5 separate regions of the Homo sapiens genome follow, and all the other regions are linked to region 5. The links are contacts of gene promoters, found by promoter capture Hi-C in blood cells and fetal thymus (Javierre and others, 2016). All regions are on one chromosome and are shown on one strand. The core of a region is centred on a gene start or on the middle of the fragment in contact, and the rest is flanking DNA. Distances in the headings are between cores, read along the strand shown. Region 1 overlaps CYP3A43 (cytochrome P450 family 3 subfamily A member 43). Region 2 overlaps TRIM4 (tripartite motif containing 4). Region 3 holds the start of AZGP1 (alpha-2-glycoprotein 1, zinc-binding). Region 4 holds the start of ZSCAN21 (zinc finger and SCAN domain containing 21). Region 5 holds the start of ZNF655 (zinc finger protein 655).

Evidence for each region. The method cuts DNA at HindIII sites, captures the fragments that hold promoters and counts their contacts. A CHiCAGO score of 5 or more calls a contact.
Region 1: a fragment that was not itself captured here is called in contact with the fragment with the promoter of ZNF655 in region 5 in 1 of 17 cell types (erythroblasts); the score reaches 6.4 in erythroblasts.
Region 2: a contact is called between a fragment that was not itself captured here and the fragment with the promoter of ZNF655 in region 5, in 1 of 17 cell types (erythroblasts). The highest score is 7.0, in erythroblasts.
Region 3: the fragment with the promoter of AZGP1 here is called in contact with the fragment with the promoter of ZNF655 in region 5 in 1 of 17 cell types (M2 macrophages); the score reaches 5.2 in M2 macrophages.
Region 4: the fragment with the promoter of ZSCAN21 here is called in contact with the fragment with the promoter of ZNF655 in region 5 in 1 of 17 cell types (M1 macrophages); the score reaches 7.6 in M1 macrophages.

The regions. Positions count from the first base shown.
Region 1 is chr7:99,839,049-99,841,748 of GRCh38, forward strand. CYP3A43 (cytochrome P450 family 3 subfamily A member 43) reads left to right here. Exons shown (of 13, transcript NM_057095.3): 3 at 72-124. Among named protein-coding and RNA genes, the nearest start is that of CYP3A43, 12 kb to the left of the region's middle. The HindIII fragment of the contact is 576 bases long and covers 1,128-1,703 here.
Region 2 is chr7:99,899,962-99,902,661 of GRCh38, forward strand. All of the region lies in intron 5 of TRIM4 (tripartite motif containing 4), which reads right to left. Among named protein-coding and RNA genes, the nearest start is that of TRIM4, 18 kb to the right of the region's middle. The HindIII fragment of the contact is 1,114 bases long and covers 697-1,810 here.
Region 3 is chr7:99,974,656-99,977,355 of GRCh38, forward strand. AZGP1 (alpha-2-glycoprotein 1, zinc-binding) reads right to left here and starts at 1,376. Exons shown (of 4, transcript NM_001185.4): 1 at 1,290-1,376. The coding sequence starts at 1,365. The HindIII fragment of the contact is 13,516 bases long and covers 24-2,700 here.
Region 4 is chr7:100,048,410-100,051,197 of GRCh38, forward strand. ZSCAN21 (zinc finger and SCAN domain containing 21) reads left to right here and starts at 1,365. Exons shown (of 4, transcript NM_145914.3): 1 at 1,365-1,432. RefSeq lists an enhancer at 1,267-1,886. The HindIII fragment of the contact is 10,625 bases long and covers 502-2,788 here.
Region 5 is chr7:99,557,311-99,560,014 of GRCh38, forward strand. It overlaps ZNF655 (zinc finger protein 655), which reads left to right and starts at 1,332. Exons shown (of 3, transcript NM_138494.3): 1 at 1,332-1,477. It also overlaps a transcript of FAM200A not described here. RefSeq lists enhancers at 977-1,106, 1,137-1,406. The HindIII fragment of the contact is 4,019 bases long and covers 1-2,647 here.

The DNA.
Region 1 (2,700 bases), core at 166-2,665, 280 kb after region 5:
TTGCCCTGGTTAAATGTAGCGTTCAGTACATTCGAAATAATACTTGAATTGTATTTTGTTTCTTCTGCCAGGGTCTTTGGAATTTTGACAGAGAATGTAATGAAAAATACGGAGAAATGTGGGGGTGAGTATTCTGGAAACTTGCATTGGATAGAGCTGTTGCTATGCTGAGTTATTTTACTGCAGAGAGAACAATCTCAGCCCAGATTTTGTTTGGATAATGCTATTGTCAACCTAAGTAACAAACAGAGAGAGGCTATCTAAAAGAAAAAGATGATCTGGGAATTGAGCATTGCAAGGGGAATATGCGTGTCATAGGAAACTCCATGCATATTCAGTATGTGAACAAAAATAAAATCTTTGAGACCCTAAACTCACTATGACAAAGGGAAAATCGAGCTTGAGAATTAAGTCATACCTTACTGCCTTCCTTTTTTCCCCAGACAGATAGCTGTAATTTCACAACCCTGGGTAATAGCTTCATACATAAGCCACATTCCCACAACAATAGCAATGTGGCATCACTCGTCTGGGGTAATACCCGAGGTTTGTTGTCCCACAGATATAGGGGGTCTCCCTATAGTGGACGCACAAAGAATAAGGTTAAGAGCAGAGGTTGGATAGGTGAAAGAAAGAGAAAAGCTCTCTCCTGCCGAGAGAGGGGGCCCCCAGTGGGTCTTCTGACCTGCGGTAAAGTGCAGGAGGTTTTATAGATGAGCTTGAGGAGGCAGTGTCTGATTTACATAGGGCATGAAAGATTGGTTGGACCAGGTGTGTCATTTGCATAGCACATAAAAAACTGGTTAGGACTAGGTGTACTGTTTGCATAACATGTGAAGAAGTTGGCTGCCCCACCCTAATCTTTTATTATGCAGATGGTTCTCTTCCTGGCTGGCACCATGTTGCCTGCTTTTTTTACTGTAAATGGGGTGACAAAGATAAGGGAAGATGGGGCCTCCATGTTGAACATAACCAGCTTCCAAGGTAGCCCTTTTCTATTGGCACAGCTGCCAGCATTTACCCGTGCAAGCTTCCAGCTTGCTTATCGATGTCTGCAGCTTGATTTTTTCAGGCTGCTCTTTGTTAGAAAAGAAATGATTTGGGGGGCTGCTTTTTGTTAAAAGGGAAGCTTTGCTGAGGACCCCTTTGCCCTCACTATCTGCCTAAATAATTTTTTTCTGGCTCCTATATCAATAGAAGGCTACATATCTTTCTGGATGGTTTCCCTCACAAGTTGCTCACATGGAATTCTATACATCTGCCCTATAAACCAGCCCTGTCATTGAGTTCTGTTGACTCACACCTTGATCATGTAAATTACCAGCTTATCACAGGTACAGAATAAGGACAAGACCAGAAATCATCCCTCCACCTACCTTGAGATGAATATGTAACTGACTTTTCCTCTACTCTTTCTTTTCACATGTATATCTCATGTAAAATGTAGATTTTCTGAGTACAACATGAATGCATAATTGATTTTTTCCTCTACTCTGTCTTTTCACATGTAAAGTGCAGGTTCGATGAGAGCTAATTGGTGCCTTACACAAATGTAATCATTTGCCACACTGCCTACTCTTTCCCCCCTTTTTTCCTTCCTGCTGGTTCTTTCCTCTTTAAATTCGGAAGTTCCCAAAACCCTCTTTGGAAAAACACAGGTCGCAGCTACCCCTGTGGCTCATGTGTTTCCAGGTGTCCCCTCAAGCTTTGACTCAATAAACCTCTATCAATCAAGACACCTGCCTCAGTCACTTTTTGGTTAACACCTTGGTAACCACAATGGGATTCACTGAGGGCAGTTTGGCCCTCAGCCTGCAGAAATTTTCCCATCAGTGTGATAGAACCAGCTAGAGCTTTTTATCACTCTAACCAATTGGCTCATGTGCTGAGGTCTGGGAGCTTCTCCTTCTAGAGATCCTTGATCTCCCATAAAATGTTGCTTGAGACCTGAATTTTCTTCTGCCATAGAGCTCCTTTCTGGGAGTTTTTACTTACTTCCAACAAGGAAGGTGAGTTTTCTGCTTCCATAATGATGAACAGTTTTTAGCTTGAGATCCGTCTCCACATAAGGAGCCGATGTGGCTTTTCATTTTGGAATTTGGTAGCTGAGGGTCAAGGTTTATTGTCAGCTAGCTATAACTTCCCCTTATGCTTGGAGATCTTGACCCTATGTAAATTGTGTGATAACTTTCTGTTTTGAGTTTCAATCTACCTTCCACTAAGTTTTACCAATTCGTGGCCCCCTCTAATGTTTACTGGAATGCCCACAGCTACAAAATGTCAATTTTCCCCTCTAGAAACCCCAGCCAGTTAAGAGAAATCAATATGCAACTCAAAATATATTTCTTTGACACTTTTCTTTTTTTGAGATGGAGTCTTGCTCTTGTCACCCAGGCTGGAGTGCAATGGGGTGATCTCGGCTTACTAAAACTTCCACCTCCCAGGGTCAAGCAATTCCCCTGCCTCAGCCTCCTGAGTAGCTGGGATTATAGGCACTCACTACCATGCCCAGCTAATTTTTGTATTTTTAGTAGAGACAGGGTTTCCCCATGTTTGCCAGCTGGTCTCAAACTCCTGACCTCAGGTGATCTGCCCGCCTTGGCCTCCCAAAGTGCTGGTATTACAGGCATGAGCCACTGCACCCGGCCTACACATTTTTTTTAATTGAGATGGAGTCTCACTCTGTTACCCAGGTTGGTG
Region 2 (2,700 bases), core at 4-2,503, 340 kb after region 5:
TTTTTGTAGAGACAGGGTCTCACTATGTTGCCCAGGCTGGCCTCAAACTCCTGGCCTCAAGCAATCCTCCTAACTCAGCCTCCCAAAGAATTGGGATTACAGATGTGAGCCACCACACCCAGCCAGTGTATAAGATTTAATATAAGGAACTGGCTTGTGTGATTATTGCTACTGACAAGTCCGAATCTGCTGTGTGAGTTGGCAGGCTCAAGACCCAGATAGAGCCAGCGTTCTAGTTGGAAGGCCATTAGGCAGGAAGAGCCAATGCTGCAGTGAAGGCCAAGGTAGTATGCTTTAGAAATCCATCAGAAAGGTCAAGCCTTTTTTTTCTATTCAAGCCTTCAACTGATTAGATGAGGCCCACCCACATTATGAAGGGCAGTCTACACAGGCTTACTGACTTAAATGTTAATCTTATCCAAAATCACCCTCAAAAAAACACCCAAAATAATTTTTGACCAATATCTGGGCACTCTGTGGCCCAGTCAAGTTGATGTATAAACTTACCATCGCAATTCCTTTTTAAAGGAATAAATAATGACAATAATATATATTTATTCGTGTCATTACCATTTCTGGTGCTCTTTTATTCCTTTGTGTAGAGAGATTTCCATCTGGCATTTTCCTTCTGTCTGAAGGACTTCCTTTAAGACTTCCTTTCTTGAAGTGTCAGTCTGCTGTAAACTCTTTCTTTTAAGCTTTAGTTTACCTCCAAACTTATTTATTTCACCTTTGTTTTTGAAGGATATTTTTTGCCAGTTCTAGAACTCTAGGTTAACAGTTTTTTTCTTTCAGGACTTTAAAGAGTTTGCTTACTGGCATTGTTTCCAATGAGAAGTGTAATGTCAACTTCGTCTTTGTTCCACTGCAAGTAACTATCCTCTCCCCTGGTTGCATTTAAGATTTTCTTTTTAACACTGGTTTCCAGCAAGTTATGATGAGCCTTGGCATATTTTTCTTCATATTTCTCATACTCAGGGTTTGTTGAGCATCTTGGATCTGTGGACTTAGTTTTTATTATATTCAGAAAATCTTTGGCCATTATGTCTTCAAGTATTTTTCCTATTCCATCTCCCTCCCCACTCCTCTCTTTCAGGGACGCCAATCACCATAGATAATAAGGCTGCATAAAGTTGTCCCACAGGTCACTGATGCTCTTTGTGTTTTTGTAAATTGTTTTATTCTGTGTATGTTTCATTTTTTTGTAGTTTCCATTGCTCTGTCTTCAAGTTCACCAATTTTTTCTTTTGTAATATTTAATCAACTATTAATCCCATCCAGTGCATTCTTCGCCTTAATCACATTTTTCATCTTTAAAACTTTGATCTGGTCTCTATGTACCTCTTTACAGAATACACTCATAATAAATGTTTTAAAGTCCTTCCATGCTTATTCTAACATCTGTGTCAATTCTAGGTCAGTTTCAGTTGATTATTTTCCTCCATTATGGGTCACTGCTTTCCTATCTTTTTGCATGCATATTTGACTGGATGCCAGACATTGTGAATTTATATTGTTAGGTGCTCTTTTTTTGTTTATTTCTACCAATTTTCTAGGGCTTTATCCTGGGATGCAGTTAAGTTAGTTGGAAAGAGTTTGACCCCTTTGGGTCTTGCTTTCATGATTTGTAAGGTGGGTGTGGAGCAGCACCCAGTCAAGGGCTAAATATTTTCTGCTAATGAGGCAAGATTTTCCTGAGTACGCTACTCAGTGCCCGTGAACTACGAGTTTTCTGGTGTGGCTGATAGGAACTGGCACTGTTCCTGGCCCTGTGTGAGCACCAGGAACCGTTCCCTCTAATCGTTTTAGAAGCTTCTATCTCCAGCCTTGAGTAGATTTTCACAGGCATGTGCTGATCAGAACTCTGCCAAACAACTAGGAAGCTCCTCCATAGATGGCGAGGGTTCTCTCTGTGTCCGGCTCTCTCCGCTCCAGGATACTGCCCAGTACTTTGCGAACTCTCACTACTTTGTTCTCCGTGAACTCCCAGGTCTATTCCTCAACTCAGCAAGTCTCCCTGGCTCTACCTCAGTTACCTCAGCCTTACATGGTCTGGAAACTCCCTCAGGCAGAGGGTAGGGCAATCATAGGCTGACCTCATTTGTTTCACATTTCTCAGGAATCACCGTCCTTCACTGCCTGACGTCTGGTGCTTTGAAAACGGTTGTTTCACATATTGTGCCTGTTTTGTTTTTGTGTTTTTATTTTAGTTGCTGCAGACAAGAAAACAACTCGTTTATTTACTCCATTTTGGCTAGAAGTGAACACCCACAACATGGTTCTTTTTAGTTTGTTTGTTTTTTGAGACAGAGTCTCACTCTATCGCCCAGTCTGGAGTGCAGTGGATACAATCTCAGCTCACTGCAACCTCCACCTCCCAGGTTCAAGCGATTCTCCTGCCTCAGCCTCCCGAGTAGCTGGGATTACAGGTGCACACCACTATGCTCAGCTAATTTTTGTATTTTAGTAGAGACAGGGTTTCACCATGTTGGCCAGGCTGGTCTCGAACTCCTGACCTCAAATGATCCGCCTGCCTCGACCTCCCAAAGTGCTGGGATTACAGACATGAGCCTTCGTGCCCGGCCTACAACATGGTTCTTAATCAAACATGTGCACATAAGAATCACCAGCACAGCTTCTAGAGCATGTACCTGCCTTGGTGCCTCCCTGGAGATCCAATGAGTTTATTTTCAGTCTGTC
Region 3 (2,700 bases), core at 126-2,625, 420 kb after region 5:
TTGTCTGTAACACAAACGATAAAAGCTTGAAGGGATGGATACCTCATTTTTGATGATGTGATTATTTCACATTGCATGCCTGAATCAAAACCTCTCATGTACCCCATAAATATATACACATACTATGCACCCACAGTTTTTTTTTTAATTTACAAAAAAATCAGTAGACCTTGAGTAAAGTGGATTACTCTCCATAGTGGTGGGCTTCATCCAATCAGTTGAAGGCCTTAAGAGAAAAAGCCTCAGATGTCCCCTAAAGAGGAAAGAATTCTGCCTACAGTCTGCCCTTGGAATCAAGACTAAGACATCAACTCTTCCCTGGGTCTCCAGCCTGCTGGCCGGCTCTGAAGATTTAGGACTTGTTACTCCTCCCAATAGTGTGAGTCAATTTCTTAAAATAAATCTCTACTCTCTCTCTCTTTTGTATACATATATGTAAATCTCTTCCTATGTGTGTGTGTATCCATGTGTATACAGTGTATGTATGTATGTGTACGTACATATATATGTATATGTGTACCACCTATTAGTTCTGTTTCTCTGGAGAACCCTGAGTAATTCAGATTTTGGCACAGAATCAGATTAACATTCCAAAGTGATTGTTATATAACAAACATATAACACCTTTTCTGACAATTTGTAAATGTCATGAATTTTAAACTCACACAACTGAGAAGCCATTCGCTTCCATGTCTTTATCCTGCACATTCTCATGCCACAAACAGCCTCCTTCCCTTATCCTAGGAGTGACTCTTGATCTCCCGGAGCTCCCACTCTCTTCTCTTCCAGCCACTCGCCTTCCAGACCCACTGCAGTGGTGTCTGAGTGTGGGATTTGGGCACGGGTTTCCTTCTAGCACCATCCCTCCAGCCAACCTGCCTTCCCACTTTCCCCTTGGGGCTGCTCTCTCTTTCCCTCAGCGTCAGGCAGGTGTACCCAGCCATCGGAAGGAGGGAAGGAACAGGAGCAGAAGCAGCTCCAGGCATATGGTTCCTACTCCGTCCTGACTGTCTACCCCAAGCAGGTCGCTTGGTCTTTGGAGTCTTTGTTTTCACTGTAAACTAGGGGTTTTAGATTCAGATTCCTGAAGGTCTTATTTCGGGCCAGCGCAGAGGCTCCCTGAATGCTCCTGGAAGTGTGTGAGCTGAGGGAGTTGACAGCCTTGGGCACCCATTCCTGCCGTATGCCAGGGTATCCCAGCTGCATCCAGCCTGTCTCCCAGCCACATGTCCTGTTCCTCACCTCCTTCCAGTCCTCTCCAGCACCCATCCCTTGCTTTCCCCACTCACCATCTTGGTTCTCCTGGGGGACAGCAGGACCCAGAAGCAGCAGCAGAGACAGCAGGACAGGCACCATTCTTACCATTGTGTCTGCTTGGAGGGTTCTGGGCAGGAGGCACAGATATTATCCTGGGTCCTGGGGCCCTGCCCAGGGGAGGTGAATCTACAGGCCAATGGGAGTGCCAGGACGGGCTCCTCCCCTAATAGAGAAAAAAAAATGATACACAAGCTAGGCTGGGCAGAGGTTATGAAGAATGAATCTACACACAGGATATGCAAATTCAGAGCTGAGTCCAGAGTTGATCTCTGGACTGAGGCTTTGTGTGTGCCTGGGGTGGAAGGATGCCAGTGGGTAGGAGGTGCGTGTGATGGGTGGCAAGCGCCTGGGATGTGTCACCCTTCCAGTCTATTGTGACAACCCCTGGGCCAGTAGGGGCATTTGTGTGTTTTTGGACCACACTGTATCCCTGCCTTCCAGAAAAACTCTCAACATGTCCAAGACATGGACCTGGGTAGACCCCAGCTGGGGTGGGACCCTCACTCTCCCACATCCGATCCTGCCAGAGGCTGTGTCTGGAGGACAGTCACATTCCCATCTCTCCCTCCTTCCTTTCTGTGCCTGTGGAATCCCAGCCTTCCATGATGGAAGCAGAAATAGCCGCATCCTCCTTTTGCAGCCTCCCTGGCAACAGAACGAGCCTCCCAAAATGCTGGGATTAAAGGCGTGAGCCACCACGCCCAGCCAAGATAATTTTTAATGCATACAACAAGACTCGTTTTACACAGACGAAGCCAGTTATTTGAAAACCAGGTCTTTCCAGGCACGCTCAGTGTTGATGGGCTATTTGCAGAGAGACCCTCCGAATACAAAGCAACATGCTATTCTAAAGTGACTGGGGCCCGGGTGCGGTGACTCATGCTTGTAATCCCAGCACTTTGGGAGGCTGAGGTGGTTGGATCACCTCAGGTTGAGGTCAGGTACTCGAGACCAGCCTGGGCAACATGATGAAACCTCGTCTCTACTGAAAAAATACAAGAATTAGCTGCGCGTGGTGGCACATGCCTATAATCCCAGCACTCAGGAAGCTGAGGCAGGGGTTTCACCATGTTGGCCAAGCTGGTTTTGAACTCCTGACCTCGTGATCTGCCCGCCTCGGTCTCCCAAAGTGCTGGGTTTACTAGTGTGAGCAACTGTGCCCAGCCTCTCTTTTGGTTAAAGAAACCTACAAAGGGACCTTTTATAGTGACTTCAATTTTATGGAATAATTGTAATGCTCCTAAGGCCGTTGTGCTCCAAAGTCTAGCCGCAGGTATTGTTATTGATTGGGCTCCAAAAGGGCATTATTGGCAAGATTGCTCCAGCAAAAATACCTCATGCTCAGAGTTTAATTATTTGTTAGATTATGTAGAGGATGGATGG
Region 4 (2,788 bases), core at 115-2,614, 490 kb after region 5:
AGCCGGCTGCCTGGAGGCTCCATCTGCATAATGGGAACCCTGGTCTCCACAACCCCTTAGTTCAGCGGTCCCCAACCTTTTTTGGCACCAGGAACCAGTTTTGTGGAAGACAGTTTTTTCCATGGATGGCAGGAGGGGGATGGATGGTTTCGTGGTTTCAGGATGATTCAAGCACATTACATTTATTGTGTACTTTATTTCTATTATTATTACATTGTAATATATCATGAAATAATTGTACAACTCATCATAACATAGAATTAGTGGGAGCCCTGAGTTTGTTTTCCTGTAATTAGAGGGTTCCATTGGGGAATTATGGGAGACAGCGACAGATCATCAGGTATTAGATTCTCATAAAGAGTGCACAACCTAGATCCCTCGCATGCACTGTCCACAATAGGGTTTGTGCTCCTGTAAGAATCTAATGCTATGGCTGATCTGACAGGAGGCGGAGCTCAGGCAGTAATTAGAGCAATGGGGAGTGGCTGTAGATACAGGTGAAGCTTTGCTCCTGCAGCTCACCTCCTGCAGTAACGGCCCAGTTCCTAACAGGCCATGGACTGGTATCTGTCTGTGCCCCAAGGGTTGGGGACCCCTGCCTTAGTCATCCCAGACATTCCTTTCTATTGATTATAGGTCTTTAGACAATAACTTTCAGCCAGTTGCCCATTAGAAGATCCTTGAGTTCACCTATGACTTGGAACATCCCCGCTTGGAATTGTCCTGCCTTTCCCACAGAACCAATGTTCATCTTACATGTCTTGATTGGTGTCTTATGTCTCCCTAAATTGTATAAACCCAAGCTGTAGCCCGACCATCATAGGTACATGTTCTTAGGACCTCTTGAGACTGTACCTTGGGCCATTGGTCACTCATATTTGTCTCAAAATAAATGTCTTCAAATATTTTACAGTTTGATTGTTTTCATCAACGAAGTATTAACTCAATCTCTGGCTTCACGGGCCAAGCACAGCGTTCCATGTCCATAAACCTGGACCGAGGAGCTGGGCCCAAGGGTATCCAGTGACCTCGATCCAGGTTTATGGACAAGGAACCCTGTGCTTATCCCAAGGGTACTCAGGGACCTTGGGCTCTGAAGTCCACGAGGGTGACCGAGGTGGCTGCCTCAGCCCATGCCCTCCCTGCCCCAGGGCGTCGGGGTTGGGTGAGAGAACCGCCGCAGCCTTCATCTGGTCTGACCGTCTTCGGTAAAAACAGAAAGAGTCCCTGGCTTTTCATTTTCGGGGTGGACTCAACTCCTCCCTGATGTCCCAAGGGCCAGAGACACAGAGAGGACCTCCCGAATTTCTAGAGGGGCCGCTACGGCCCCGCACTACTTTTCCGCGGGGGCGGGGCTATGACGCACTTCCGGGTGCGCGGTCCCGAGGTACGCGGTGCGGTCTCCCGGTACCCGGAGCGGCTCTGATTCATGGTGAGCCTGCTGGTCGCGGGTTAGCGAGGCGGACAGGAGAGGGAGCCGTGGCTGAATGGTCTGGGGAGGGAGGAGTGGGTTTAGCAGCTGTGGCTTCCGAGGACCCCACCTAGACCGGTCCTAGCAGGGCTGTGGGGAGGAGCTCCTCGTCCCCGCCCAGGACCAGCTGGTGGGGGCGCTGGCTGCCTGGAAAGCCTTTTCTTCCACTTGGGGCTTTAACAAATGAAAGCTGGAAGAACAGATGTTTTGGAAGTTCTTTCGCGTTCCAGAATAGTTTTTTTTGTGCGTTCCCCAAGCCAAGCCGTCTATCAGTCTGACCGTGGCCGCCTTTTTTCCCTTTCTCTGAACTGGAGGTCCGAACGCAAGGCTCATTGATGGCAATACGCCCAAGGTGTTGGAAACCTGTGGGAAGCCGAACCTCATTAGAAGTGTTGGGTAGAATCAAATCCAAGGGAAGAAATAGTCCCCTCGGGCTTTGTTCGGGCTAGAACACACACACAGAATAGGGATCTGCTCATGGTTTAGAAAAACAGTCTTAAAGAACCATGTATAAATAAAAGAGTGTCAGGACAAAGTTGATTTGGGCCAGGCGCGGTGGCTCACGCCTGTAATCCCAGCAGTTCGGGAGGCCGAGGCCGGCGGATCACTTGAGGTCAGGAGTTCGAGACCAGCCTGGCCAAACCCTGTCCCCACGAAAAATACAAAAATTAGCTGGGTGTGGTGGAGCGCGCCTGTAATCCCAGCTACTCAGGAGGCTGAGGCAGGAGAATCGCTTGAACCCACCAGGTGGAGGTTGCACTGAACCGAGATCACGCCACTGCACTCCAGCCTGGGCGACAGAGCAACACTTGGTCTCACAAAAAAAAAGAACGTTGATTTGATGGGTGAGGTACTTGGAAACCCACGAAATCTAAGGAACAGTTGAGCTGTGGAGAGGAAAAGAATTAAGAGGCAAGATAATTGTTTTCAAGTGTTGGAAGGCTGCTATGGAGAAAGTGAGTATTGGTCTTGGACTAACCTAGGATTTTTGAAATGATGCGGAATTTGATTCAGGTTAAAGAATTTGTGTGGCCGGGCGCGGTGGCTCATGCCTGTAATCCAGCACTTTGGGAGGCCGAGGCGAGTGCATCACCTGAGGTCGGGAGTTCGAGACCAGCCTGACCAACATGGAGAAACCCCGTCTCTACTACAAATACAAAATTAGGCGGGCGTGGTGGCACATGCCTGTAAGGAGGCTGAGGCAGGAGAATCGCTTGAACCTGGGAGGCAGAGGTTGCGGTGAGCCGAGATCGCGCCATTGCACTCCAGCCTGGGAAACAAGAGTGAAACTACGTCTCAAAAAAAAAAAAAAAAAAA
Region 5 (2,704 bases), core at 82-2,581:
GAAATGGTTTCCCATCACATTGCTAATAGGTACAACCTGTGAAGGGTTCTAGGTGGGGAAATGGCAACTCAGGAAGAACTCCAAACCTTTAGCTCTCCTAGGATATTAAAATGGCCGTTATGAAGAGGAAGAAGTACTGTGTCATCTATTGTCCTGGGGACCTGTCAACAGGAACAATAGATAGACATCACCAGGGGTGTATTTCTGTTCAACACAAGGAAAAGTTTCTAATTGGAGCTGTCCAGCATGAAATGGACTAAGCAGTGCATTTTCTTTCTCCGATCCTGACTCCACTGTGACGGGCACTGCAGACTAGAGAGATTGTGTCCTAGTATGAATTTAGGTTGGATAAATGATACTTAGGGATAAAGAGAGGAAAGGAATATCAGAATCTCCAAGAAGCTGATACATTTTGAAAAAATATATAAAATGCCACACTTCAGGTTTTCTTGTGTTTAATTTGAAACGTCCAGTAACATTAAAGAACAGCATTTGATTTGCTTAAACAAAGTAGTAACAGCTGAAGTTCCTTCCAAATCACTTTTCTGATTCTCTAAGAGGCTTGCCTATGCCTTGCAGATCTAGCTTCACCTACAAGACATATTCTGTAAGGATCCAGGTTCAGCAAGGTGTCAGAATGTCCTAAGGGTTTCTGTCCCGGCGCTCTGCCTGTCCCGCTTGTGCACAATGCTTTTGCCTATCCCTGTTTCTGCATAGATTTTAGTCTTCCCACCAGGGACGCAACTGTCAGTTTCCTCCGTCTCTCTCGGTTCTATTCCAATCTGCTCATCTCCCCTCCCGTCCCCGCTTTCCCCAAGGACCTACTGAGATTTCGATCCCACAACTTAGTGGGTCCCATCTCACCCAGGCCCCGCAATCCTCGCCTTCTACTTGTCAGCGTTGTACTACACTCTGAGCAGGCACCCCTGTGCTACTCACGGAAGCGGGACCATTAGGTCGGCCATTCCTCCTCACCCCACGACACGCACCCACTGGGTCGGGCCGCCTCCTTGCAGGGAGTCTCAAGGATGGGCTGGCGTCAGGGAGGGGCCCAGGGGGCGCTTTCCCAACACTGGTCGCAGTCATTGTTGGTATAACGGCTAGAGACGCCCAGTGAGTTAGCATGGAGGGCAGTGGGACCGGAAAAAGACGTGGAAAAGCTGCGAAAACGAGCCTTCGAATCATGGACGCGCGGGCCCAGCTCCTCCTCCGAGTTCCTCATCCGGGGCCGTCACTCACATCCGGGGCCCTCACTCACATCCGGGACCCTCATCCGGGGCTCTCACCCACATCCGGGACCCTCATGCCTGGGCGGAGGAGGGGGGGCCCTCATTCGGGACCCTGCACTCCGTCGCCGGAAGTGCCACCGAGAAGCGCCGGCCTCGGGGCTGTCTACAGCGGCCCGGGAGAGGCTGTGGTGGCCCCGAGCGCGAGTGTGTAGGTGACAGGACAGCGGCCAGGCCCGCCCCTCCCCTCGGTGAGTACCCGGAAGCCGTTTTGGGGTCGCAGCGGGGTGGCAGCTTGTTTTGCCTTCACGGGAGTAGAAGGAGGCGGCGTCCGGCCGCGGCCGACGGTAGTTCGCTTCCCCGAGAGTGCGCGGAGGCCCGGGTGCGAGGAGGGCCTGTTTCTCTTCAGCCCTGGTTCATTCACCTCGCGGACCGAGGGCCCCGCCGTCAGGAGCCGGCGACCGTGCCCTGGTGCGAGCTGGTCTGTATGTCCTCACTGGTCCTTTTGGGACTTTGCCTTGGCCTAAAAGGGAAGTGGGAGGAGGGCAGCGCCGGGCAAGGCCTTCTGAGGACCGAGCTGGGAGCCGGGCAGGGGCCCAGGGCGAGGGTGGTGGGAGGGGGACGGCACCCTCATGCGTCCTTGGGCCTGAAGGACGCCGCTCAAACCTGTTCGAACCGCAGCTCTTACCTGCGTTGCTCTCAGGATTCCGGGAAAAGGCCGGTCTAGCTGGTCTGAGTTAGCGAAGGGCCTGACCCCAAAAGTGGAGTTTTATTCGCCAAGCCCGTGTAGTAAATCGGAGTGGGCTGACGGTGTTACCAAGACATTTCCTAGGGGGCCTGCTGTTTTATTTATTTAAATGAGTTTATTTACGTAAACGCGGGCCTGTCACGGTGGTTCACGCCGTAATCCCCGCACTTTGGGAGGCCGAAGTGGGAGGATCGCTTGAGGCCAGGCGTTCGAGTCCAGCCTGGGCAACATAGCGAGACTCCCATCTCTGCTAAAACAAAATTAAAATAAAATGAGCAATCATAACTAGCATTTTTCTCTGGGCACCAACTTGAGCCTCCAAAGACGATTGTAAATTTTAAATATTTTGTTTTGTTTATTTGAGGTGGGCTGTCACGCTGTCATACAGGCTGGAATGCAGTGGCGCAGTCATAGCTCACTGCAGCCTCTACCTCCCAAGCTCAAGCGATTCTCCTGCCTTGGCCTTTGGAGTAGCTGGAACTACAGGCCTGGGCCACCTAATTTTTTTTTTTTTTTTTTTTTTTGTAGGGACGGGGTTTCACCATGTTGTCCAGGACGGTCTGGAACTCCTGAGCTTAAGGGATCCACCCGTCTGTGCCTCCCAAACTGTTGGGATTACAGGCTTGAGCCACCGCACGTGGCCAATTTTAAATATTTTAAAGTTTCCACAGAAAGCTTTACACTATTAAATTGTACCGTGTTAATTTTTTTAATGCCACAAATTCCAAAT